Regions from separate parts of the Homo sapiens genome. Here region 1 is linked to region 2. Evidence: promoter capture Hi-C in human tissues and cell types (Jung and others, 2019). All regions are on one chromosome and are shown on one strand. The core of a region is centred on a gene start or on the middle of the fragment in contact, and the rest is flanking DNA. Distances in the headings are between cores, read along the strand shown. Region 1 overlaps UGCG (UDP-glucose ceramide glucosyltransferase). Region 2 holds the start of GNG10 (G protein subunit gamma 10).

The links. The method cuts DNA at HindIII sites, captures the fragments that hold promoters and counts their contacts. A contact is called where the count stands out against the background at its distance.
Region 1: a contact is called between a fragment that was not itself captured here and the fragment with the promoter of GNG10 in region 2, in 1 of the 25 tissues and cell types used here (aorta).

What each region holds. Positions count from the first base shown.
Region 1 is chr9:111,935,152-111,940,316 of GRCh38, forward strand. It overlaps UGCG (UDP-glucose ceramide glucosyltransferase), which reads left to right. Exons shown (of 9, transcript NM_003358.3): 9 at 1-218. Among named protein-coding and RNA genes, the nearest start is that of MIR4668, 5.6 kb to the left of the region's middle. RefSeq lists an enhancer at 2,734-3,043. The HindIII fragment of the contact is 5,345 bases long and covers 1-5,126 here.
Region 2 is chr9:111,659,744-111,664,857 of GRCh38, forward strand. It overlaps GNG10 (G protein subunit gamma 10), which reads left to right and starts at 1,862. Exons shown (of 3, transcript NM_001017998.4): 1 at 1,862-1,972. The coding sequence starts at 1,892. All of the region lies in intron 1 of DNAJC25-GNG10 (DNAJC25-GNG10 readthrough), which reads left to right. RefSeq lists enhancers at 1,443-1,502, 2,573-2,672, 2,873-2,922 and silencers at 1,683-2,132, 2,163-2,282. The HindIII fragment of the contact is 18,619 bases long and covers 1-5,114 here.

The DNA of each region.
Region 1 (5,165 bases), core at 1,204-3,703, 280 kb after region 2:
CTTAACAGAGAGATTCTTTGTTTAGCAAGCTTGGAGTGATGATAAAATGGTAAGAAATAATATAAATGTTGAAGAAAGCATCACAACAGAACTATAGGAGTCTAAATTTAATAAATCTTTAAAAAAAACCAGTGTCTAGAATATATACCATGTTTTATTATTTAAAATCATTGTCTTAAATTTTTGTTCAAAAAATAAAAATTTGAATACAATCAAAACGTTAGCAATAGTGTATTTTTTGTTCTTCTGTATTTTTATAAGTAGCATGTTCCACCATTCACATCAGAATTATTAGAAGAGTTCTGTCAAGTATTCCTTTTGAAATCTTCCTTTTACCTGAGCCATAGGTAAAATAAATAAGGACATAGGCAGTCCTGTGACTTAAGTATGGCTTTTCTACATTGGTTGCCTGTTAAAATCACCTGGAGAACTTGTAAAAAAAAAAAAAAATACACAACACACACCCTGGGCCCTGTACACAACACACACACACACCCTGGGCCCTGTACACAACACACACACACACCCTGGGCCCTGCCCACATAGATTTTGGTGTAATTATTTTGGGTGAGGCCTGAGCTCTTCTACCCGTGATTCTACTGTGAGAATGACTGGCTCGTAATGACCTTTAGAAAAGAGCCAGTGGTCCTTTGGGCCCCTCTCCCCCCGGGCTCACAGCTTGAACTCAGCCTTTTAGATCTTACCACTCTAATGGCTAGAAAATGTAAATCCAAAGGAAGGAATGGAGTGGCATTATTACTTGAGACCCAGATGGGAGATGCACCTTACATACTTTCCAAGGCCAGGTCCCTCCCAAGCTGGAAGCCTTTACAGGCCTGTTTTACCACCATCCCATGAGAAAAGAATGTTCTTAACTGGAGAACAAATCCGGGGTAGAAAGAATCCGCTCTCAGCTGATATTTTTGTCTCTCCGTAGTTCCTGTGTTGAAACCTAATGCCCAATGTGAGGAGGGTCTTTCAAGGTGAGGCCTTTGGTAGGTGATCAGAGCCGTCAGGATGGGATTGATGCTTATAAAGGAAACCCCAGAGAGCTTTCTTGCCTCTTCCGCCATGTGAGGATACGGCAAAAAGGTGACCAGCTATGAACCAGAAAGTCAGCTTTTACTAGCCACTAAATCTGCCAGGGCCTTGATCTTAAACATTCCAGCCTCCAAAACTGAGAAAGTTTTGTTGTTTATAACCCACCCAGTCTATGGTATTCTGTTATCGGAGCCGTAAGACACAGTCTAAAAGGGATCTGGCCCAGTAAACAAACATTCCTTCTCATTTGTGTACTTCTAACCCTACAGTTTAAGAAATGATCAACACAAAGTTGAGTATGTCTTAGAATTTCATAGCTAGGTGGATCTTGAGGATCCCTCACCCTTATTTTAGAATGAAGAAGCTGAGACACCCACGGTGAGAGCTGTGATCATAGGGTTAGGTAGGCATGGTGCTGGTGGCAGAGCTGGGAGTAGCCCCTCTATCTGGTCCCAGTGTGGTATATTTCTCCGCTGGACCACATTTAAATTTATGCTTACACTGGCTTGAAAATTTACCTAGACCTTAAGGGGGAAAAATATCACAGTTTTAATAACCATCTGTATCCTAACTCAAAAATTGTTCTAGAGAACCAGATTCAAACCTGTAGAACAAGAATGTAAATTACTATAAAGCTCATTTAAAGTGAAATGCTTTACATACATGATTGATAAGATTGATGCATACCACAAGACTGTGTTCATGAGAATGGAAATAGTTCAGACCTTTCCTTCTGAAGTTTATCAGGATCTAGTGCTTGAGTTATTTATTTATTCATTTCAAGTTATAGTTTACGACCATATCAAGTTCATTTCGGTGAAAAGAAAGCAAACCGCAAAATGGTGAGTACCTGTCTCTGCAGAGCTGCAAGGATATGTGTTTAGTTGGGTAATTTGCTTTAAAAATATTGATACCTAGAAAAAAGTTTAAAATCACTATCCTAGTATTTTCTAAAAACAAAAATACATATCTTTAAGAGATCCCTAAGCAGCTAGTTTCCTAAGAACCAAAATGTGCTAAGCCTTTCACATGGCCCCTCCTCAGTTCCGAGAGAAATTGGCAGAGACTGTGGGTGTCTGGAATGGTTTCATGTGGTTGTGCTGTTTAGACTAATCATCATTAAGACATCCATGCTAATAGCATGGACTTGTAATTATCTAATTTAAGCAATTTAGGGATATCATTTATTCTTCTACAGGACTGAGAGTATCTGCACCCCTCCTCTGCTGCCTGCACACCCCATTGCGGTCATGCCACCTTTGTTTCCCAACCCTTGTCACCAGATGTGAAACCTCTATCATTTCCCCTCATGACTGACGGACACCAGGCCAGCCTAAGGAACATGCTGGAGAAATCCAGCAGACTATTTATTGTGCAGCTCTGGAGCAGGGGAAAGGAATGGGTTAGAAGTGGTGACTTGGGAGTAATTTCCCTAGAGGTGATGGCTGAGACAGTGACTATAACTAAAGTCAAAGTGCCATTTAGAGAGACAATGGAAGAAAAACATCTAGGAAAAGAGGCTGCCAAACCTGGGGTCCAAATGGGCTTTTTGGTAGCTATGGGACTTTAGGAAGCTTCCTTCATCTTTCTGAGCCAAGCTTTCTTAACCATGTAGAATGGAGATACTAAAGCACCTGAGGTGGTAGAGATGATTCGATGAGGTCATGTACATGAGCATAGGGACAGTTAGTGCCTTTTTCCTCCCAAAGAAGAAAGAAATAGTAAAAGGAGTGCCACAGTAGCCTTGGAAAGAGAGATTTCAAGAAGGAAGTGGTCACGGGAGGGGCCGTTGACCGTAAAGGATGAGAAGAGGCTGGTGAACTCTGGGGCAGGAAACTCCCTGTAGAGTTGCCAGCGTGGGTCTCCGCCATAGTGAATTGTCTCAGACGTTGATAGATGAAGTGTCTGCGTGGGAGTAATACAGCTTCTTTATGAACGATTTTTCTTGTTTTACACAGTGATATATTTTCTACAGTGAGAGACAAAGGGGTGGGACTTTCAAAGACAGAAATTGCTCCTGACCCTGAGAGCACCCATATGACTCTGATGCCAAGGAAACAGTTTAAGAAAGGCAGCTCCCAGGAAGCCAGTTCATCAGAGTGGAAGAAGCAGAAGTCAGATGCTTTAGGTTTGGCTGCGTGTGAAAAAGACATGAAAGCGATGGGCACAGATATTTGGAAACTGCAACAACGATGCATTTCCACCCAAGGTCCCAGTAATACTAAGCCAAAAAACTAAGCCTGACTTGAATTTGTGAGAAATGTCCTAAGAAGTTGGGTCATTAAGAGACGATGAAGGGGAATTGTCCATCCCCATCTTCCAGTCTCCTGACTTTATCCTAGACTGTCTCCCAACAGCATAATCGGCATCCCGGAAGCAGCTGTGGGCACCCTAGCCCTGCCCACAGTCTGCCCTTTTTCATTTTGTTCTGATTCGCTTATTTTTGGTTATATTGCTTGTTTTACTTCCTGCTTTGTCTCTACATTGACTTGGAGCTTGACTTCTGACTTCAGCTTCTTCCTCTGACCCCATGTTCCTCAGCCTTACTCCAAGCCCAGGAAAAGGTGGTCCTTAATTTTCTATTCTCATTTCACATCACCATCTCTCCAGCCTGAGCTCTCCACCCCCAACCCAATGGCTCACTCTCACCAGCCGACCCTTTTCCGTGTGGAACCAGAGCTTCCTTGCTCCCATGCTGTTTCCTTGCCCTGAAAGTTTCTCTCCCTTCATCCTCACTTTCCCTGTCTATGGGGATACTCTCCTTCTTTATTGTTGGTTTTTTTGTTTTATTGTTTTTTGAGACAGAGTGTCACTCTGTCACCCACCTGGAGTGCAGTGGCGCAATCTCTGCTCACTGCAGCCTCCACCTCCTGTGTTCAAGCGATTCTTGTGCCTCCGACTCCTGAGTAGCTGGGATTACAGGCGTGCACCACTACATCCAGCTAATTTTTGTATTTTTAAGGGGTTTCACCATGTTAGCCAGGCTGGTCTCAAACTCCTGTCCTCAAGTGATTCGCTTGCCTCGGCCTCCCAAAGTGCTGGGATTACAGGCGTGAACCACCGCACCTGGTCAACATACTCTCCTTTAAACCTCAACTCACATTCAATTCAGGACCTTTCCAGAGTTGTGTGTGCCCACATTTTGTCCCTTTCATTTTGTCAGGCATTTCACTTACGTGTCTGCAGGTCATTTCCAGTTTTCAGGGGCCTGGACTTTGCATATCTTAGTAGTCCTTTTTTGTGCTTTTTTCTCTTTGTACCCTTCCCTCCAGTGCATTCATGTAATAGTCACTCGGGAAAGGTCTATTGTTGACAGTCAAGCCAGAATCAAAACATTAATTCTGGCACATATGTCATTTAATACCTTTCCACCCTCTCATTGTGTTAGTAAGGTGTTTGCTATTTCATGCTCCCAACCCCCCCACCCTCACCCTACTAAAACAAAAGATTTCTCTACACATGAGTAAAATACTAAAATTTTATTTTCCCCTTCTAGAATCTTCTAGTTCTGGTTTTGGGTTTTTGTTGTTGTTTTTGTTTGCTTTTTGTTTTTTGAGACAGAACCTGCCTCTGTCGCCCAGGCTGGAGTGCAGTGATGTGATCTTGGCTCACTGCAACCTCCGCCTACCGGGTTCAAGCGATTCTCCTGCCTCAGCCTCCTGAGTAGCTGGGATTACAGGTGCACATCACCACGCTTGGCTAATTTTTGTATTTTTAGTAGAGACGGGGATCACCATGTTGGTCAGGCTGGTCTCGAACTCGTGATCTTGTGATCCGCCCTCCTCGGCCTCCCAAAGTGCTGGGATTACAGGCCTAAGCCCCTGCGCCCGGCCTGTTTTTTTCCTTAAACTTTGAGAAGCTAGCAGTTTTTGGAAGGAATCAAGAGGTGACCCTGTCAAGTCTATCTTATCAACATCCTACAAGCCCATTGATTCTTGTTGTGTTTTATTTTCTTTAAGTTACACATTGGTTTTGGATCATAAAAATAGTACATATTTACTATAAACCTGAAACATAAGAAATGAACAAAAGCCCTTCTAGGTAGATACTCAAGAGAACTGGAAACAAAACGTCCACATAAAAACTTGAATGTTCATAGCAGCATTATTCATAATAGCCAAAAG
Region 2 (5,114 bases), core at 612-3,111:
TGTTTACCATAAACTTTTGTGTGTATGTGAGGTTTTCTATGACTTCTGGCCCTAGCAACTTTGTATCTGCTATTAGTCACTAGAGCTTCCTCTATTTTTAAATTTATTCACTCTACATGTGTGCATCGCCTCCAGCTGTCCTCCATACTGGACTGTTCTTCCTTCTGAGCCATCTGCAAGACACGTATCTCCAAAGTCCAGCTCTCACGATCTATGATGAGCCTTTCCTAATCCAGTATGTATATCTTTGCACTGAGTTCTTTGCCATATCTTTTAAATATGAAATCATTCTATTTTGTCCTATTCATCAGTCTCAGAATTGATTGTTGAATGTTCCCAACATGTACTTTCATCTCTTTACTAAGATATATATTAATTTCTTTGTGGTGAGGAAATTGGCCACTAGAGAGGGCTTTCAAATGTGCAAGTCTCCCTTTGGCCCAGGCACAGCTAATCTGAGCACGTCAATGCCACACATCCTTGCCTTCAAAGAGTAATTGGGCCAGGGGTGGGCCCATGACTTAATACCAGCCAGTGAGGTTCATTATGGGGATTTTTGCTGGAACGATTAGAAAGAAAAGAGGTACTATTTTTCCTGGGTTTGCTAGATGGGGACAGTGAAAGTGTGGTGCCTTCCTTCATACCACTAGAGAAGTCCATCTACCACCAAGGAAAATGAGGCTAATCTCAGGAAAAGCAGAATCAAAACAAGGAGGATGAGAGCCCCAAAATTATTATTTGGGTAATTGAATTCACTAGTTTAAAGTCCCTGGACTTTTCAGTTACACAAGCCAATATATTACCTTTTGCAATATTCAGTTTAAGTGAGTTCTGACAAATACAATGGTGTACAAGAATAATGACGTATTAATGATACATGGAAAAAAGCAACACAAAAATTTTAAATATAGTAACGATCCCAGTTTTGTAAAACACTTATTAAAAAATGCAGTAGGCCTATAATGCCAGCACTTTGGGAGGCTGAGGTGGGAGGATCACCTGAGCCCAGGAGTTCAACACCAGCCTGGCCAACATCGTGAAACCCCGTCTCTACTAAAAATACAAAAATTAGCCGGGCGTGGTGGTGTGTGTCTGTAGTCCCAGCTACTCAGGAGGCTGAGGCAGGAGGATCACCTGAGCCCACGAGGTGGAGGCTACAAGGAGCTGTGATCACGCCACTGCACTCCACCCCGGGTGACAGAGCAAGACCCTGTCTCAAAAAAAAAAAAAAAAAAAAAAAAAGCAGCAGAATAGAAACAATGATGACAGTTAAATGGTGAGATGAGAGTGAGAAACGCTGAATTTAATTTTATTCTGTATGTTTCACAAAGATGTCAGGGTCTGGGATTTTATCCAATTTACCATACTCCACCAAATCAACTGGTAGGATCTCCGTGAAACAGTAACAGGGTCATTTAGAAACCTGTTGCTGCCTCATGAAAATCCTATGAACTCTCCTTGGTTCCCCGGTGATACTGTCTGGCAAGGCCCCTTATCTCTCCAACTCATGTCACACCTTGGCTCCAGTTCTCATTTCTCAGGGGTGCGTGTTTGCTGCCGCCCACTCCATCCTCGCGTCCCACGCCCTCGCGATTCCTGCTCATCCTAGGGGCGCCAGCTTCGCTGGAGGACGCCGCGCTCTGCGGGTCCCCGCCTCGGTTCCAGGCCCAGCTGCAGGTGCCACCCAGGTTTCAGGCGCTGAGGAGCGGAGAGCACTGCCAGCTCGCTGGGGTCCCCGCTGTCTCTGGCAAGCGGCTCCGCGCCGGGTGGGCTGGGGCGGCGGGGCGGGCGCAGCTGCTTCCCCGCCCCGGGGCGGCACCCGCGCTCGGGGCTGGCGGCTCCTCCCCGCCCGGCCGGGCCCAGCAGCCCCTAGGAGCCCAGCGCCGCCGCCATGTCCTCCGGGGCTAGCGCGAGCGCCCTGCAGCGCTTGGTAGAGCAGCTCAAGTTGGAGGCTGGCGTGGAGAGGATCAAGGTGCGGGCCCCGGGTACCCACGCTCCGGTCCTTCCGCCCGCGGGGCGTGAGAAGAGGAGGCCGGCGGCCCGGACCGGGCGCCAGCGGGGGACTCGGTGGCGGCGGCGAGGCCTCGGCGGGGCGCGGGGGCGGTGGGGTCCGCGGTGAGGGAGGGCGCGGGGCAAGCCGGGGGCCCGGGCCTGACGGGAGGAAGCCGCGCCTGGGGGGCCCCGCGGTCGTGGTCGGTCCCGGTCCCTGGGGGTGCGCCCACTCCAGAAGGCGGCCGTGGTCAGTTCCTCGGAGGGCGCAAGGGATGCCGGCGACGCGCGGGCCGGGAGGGTGGACCCAGGGCTGGGGAGGCCACCGCAGGGCGGCGAATTGGTGATGGATTGGTAGGATGAGAGCGAGAGGGAGGAGAGCCAGGATGCTCGGGTTTCTGTCGTCGTGACAGGGTGGACGGCGCTGCCACCCGCCGAGGTAGAGAGGAGGGGGAACAGGTTTGGGGAAATGATGAGTTCGGCTGCGGACCTGGGGACTCCGGGGAGTCATCCGGGAGGTATTTGTCCTCATGGCCTGAAGCTCAGCGCCCAGGGCTGAAAGAGGTCATTCAAGTGCATTGGGGCGAAAAAGCCTCTTCTATGAAGAGCAGAGCTCAGAGCCTGGGACCCGGGGACCAGCCACACCGATGGCCGGTGGCCGAGAGAAGAGGAAATAAGAGACAGCAAGGTTTCCGAGCAAGGCCTAGAGAAGAGGAAATAAGAGACAGCAAGGTTTCCGAGCAAGGAAGTAGGGATTTCCAAAAACTGGGGGCTCAGTCAACATGTCCAGCGTTTAGTCAGTTGGCTAAAAGGCGTCTGTTGTAGAGCTGTGTTTAGCTACGAGTGCAGCATTATTTGCAGAAGATCTGTAAGAAGGAACACAACCAGGATAGTCCCTGTGCCTCAGTTTCTCCTTTGCTGTGTGCCTGGCACTGCTACAGGGAATAGGGTGGTTCTGGAGGGGAAGGTAAACAGCAACTTAACGGATACATAGCATCGCTTCATGTACTAAGTGGAGTGAAGATAATAAACAGGGTAAAGGGAGAGAGGGCTGTGGAATGCAGAGGTCTGGTGGCTTATGTGTTAGTAAAAGCAGAATCTGGACTGTCATAGGGTAGGCAGACGTTTTTTCTTTTTAAAGAAACCTAGTTTTAAAGAGGAAATAACGTGTTTTTTTAACTTAGGAAATGAAAAGCCATGTTTTAGGGTTGAGAGGAAGTAACAAATTATATTTTTAGGTTCCAGGGAAGAAACAAATGGAAGCCAATTGCTGGTAGAGGAGACAGGGCTACGGGGGGGTGGGGGATTGGTGGCACAGCTTCTGAGACAGGAAGAAAGAAGGTAAGGGTGTGTGTAAAGATAAGTTTCTAGATATGGGCTAAACTTGTATGGTGACACTTTTCTTTGTGAAATAGGAGGCCAGGTTTTCTTCTAAGGCAGAGGAAAGGGGACTAAGGGAGTGGCCCCTGAGCAGGCACGCAGATGCGCTGTGACTGAAGACCCAGCTGCTGTGACAAGGGAGACTGCTGGTCATATTTGTGATTTTTTTTTTTTCCTGCAGCAATCTTTACCATCCTGGAATGTGAGTGCTGAAGGTGAACGGTAGTTGAAAGAGGAGTAAGTTAGCAGGGGAGGTATGCCAGAAAGGTGGAGGTGGGGCCGGAGGGCAAGGCGTGTGAAGGTCTGGCCAGAAAGAGGCTGAGCCTAGATGGATAGAGAAGGAATGCAGCCAGCCTCCTGGTGATAGGTGAGACAGAAGGGGAGGAGGTGATGCCTGGTGATCTCGGTGAGGTCAGAGCAGAATAAAGGAAGAATAAAGGAGGCAGCACCCTGGATGGGAAGGAGAGATTGTGATCAGAGAGTAGGATACTGGAGTGTAAAATTTCAGAAGTGGAGCAGTTACAGGTGTTGTAACTGTATCTGTTGGCATTGAGGAGAAGGCTGTTTGAGGGGAAGAAGTCAGGGAACTGAAATGAGGGTTGTTGGAAATTCACAAAGACAATGTGGGGACATGAGGTAGAAAGGAAAACTGTGAGCCAGTCAGATGCCTGTCTACCCGCCAAGTAGCTAAGAAAGAGGAAAGATATTCTTTTTTTTTTTTTTTTGAGATGGAGTTTCATTCTTGTTGCCCAGGTTGGAGTGCAATGGCATGATCTCAGCTCACTGCAACCTCTGCCTCCCAGGTTCAAGCGATTCTCCTGCCTCAGCCTCCCGAGTAGCTGGGATTACGGGCACCTGCCACCACGTCCACTAATTGGCTTTTTTTTTTTTTTTGTATTTTTAGTAGAGATGGAGTTTCACCATATTGGCCAGGCTGGTATCGATCTCCTGACCTCAGGTGATCCTCCCGCCTCAAGCTCCCAAAGTGCTGGGATTACAGGCATGAGCCATGGCACCTGGCCGGAAAGATGTGCTTATCTACCTTTTAAAAATGATGATGAAACTGAGAGCCATATAATTCAGGTGAATTGCCTGAGCTCGCAGTAAGCTTATTTACAAATAGGATAATAAGCCTATTTAAGAGGTGCGCTCATGGAAGTATGATCTGGGGTACTTGGCAGGGCTTCCCTCAGACAATACCTTAGAGAGTCACAACCATTCCAGGGTCTGGTCTACCTCACATCCTCATTCATTGTTGGATGTGCTTAGCATAGCCAGAGGTGTCTTCTCTTTGACAGACTTGCTATCTGAAAAATAAACCAGGACACCAATTTTCTAGCATATAATAGAGGACATCCCTTCCCAGCTATAGGAATGCTTGGTATCCTTCCAAGAACTCCTCCTTTAGAGGAGCCTCACAGAAGTTGCTGGGTAAACATGGGCTCAAACCAAGGAAAGTCAGGTAACCTGGGTGGAGGTTATCCCACCACCAATGGCAGGGGACAGCTTGCAAGTATTTGGGCTTATAGTCTCCCAGCCCACAGCCTCTCTCCCTTGCTAGTGTTAGAGAGATGCTGATCACGTTTACTCTTCTCTTATTTTCTCTGCGTATCCCCTTACCTTAACTTTTTGACCATGTTCTTGAGCCTAGAGTTCAGTTAGTCTCATTTCTCCAGGAGTCCTGGAGACAGTGTCCTTCCACCTACCATGTGTGGAGTTTACCTGCCACCCCAATGCAAAGATAG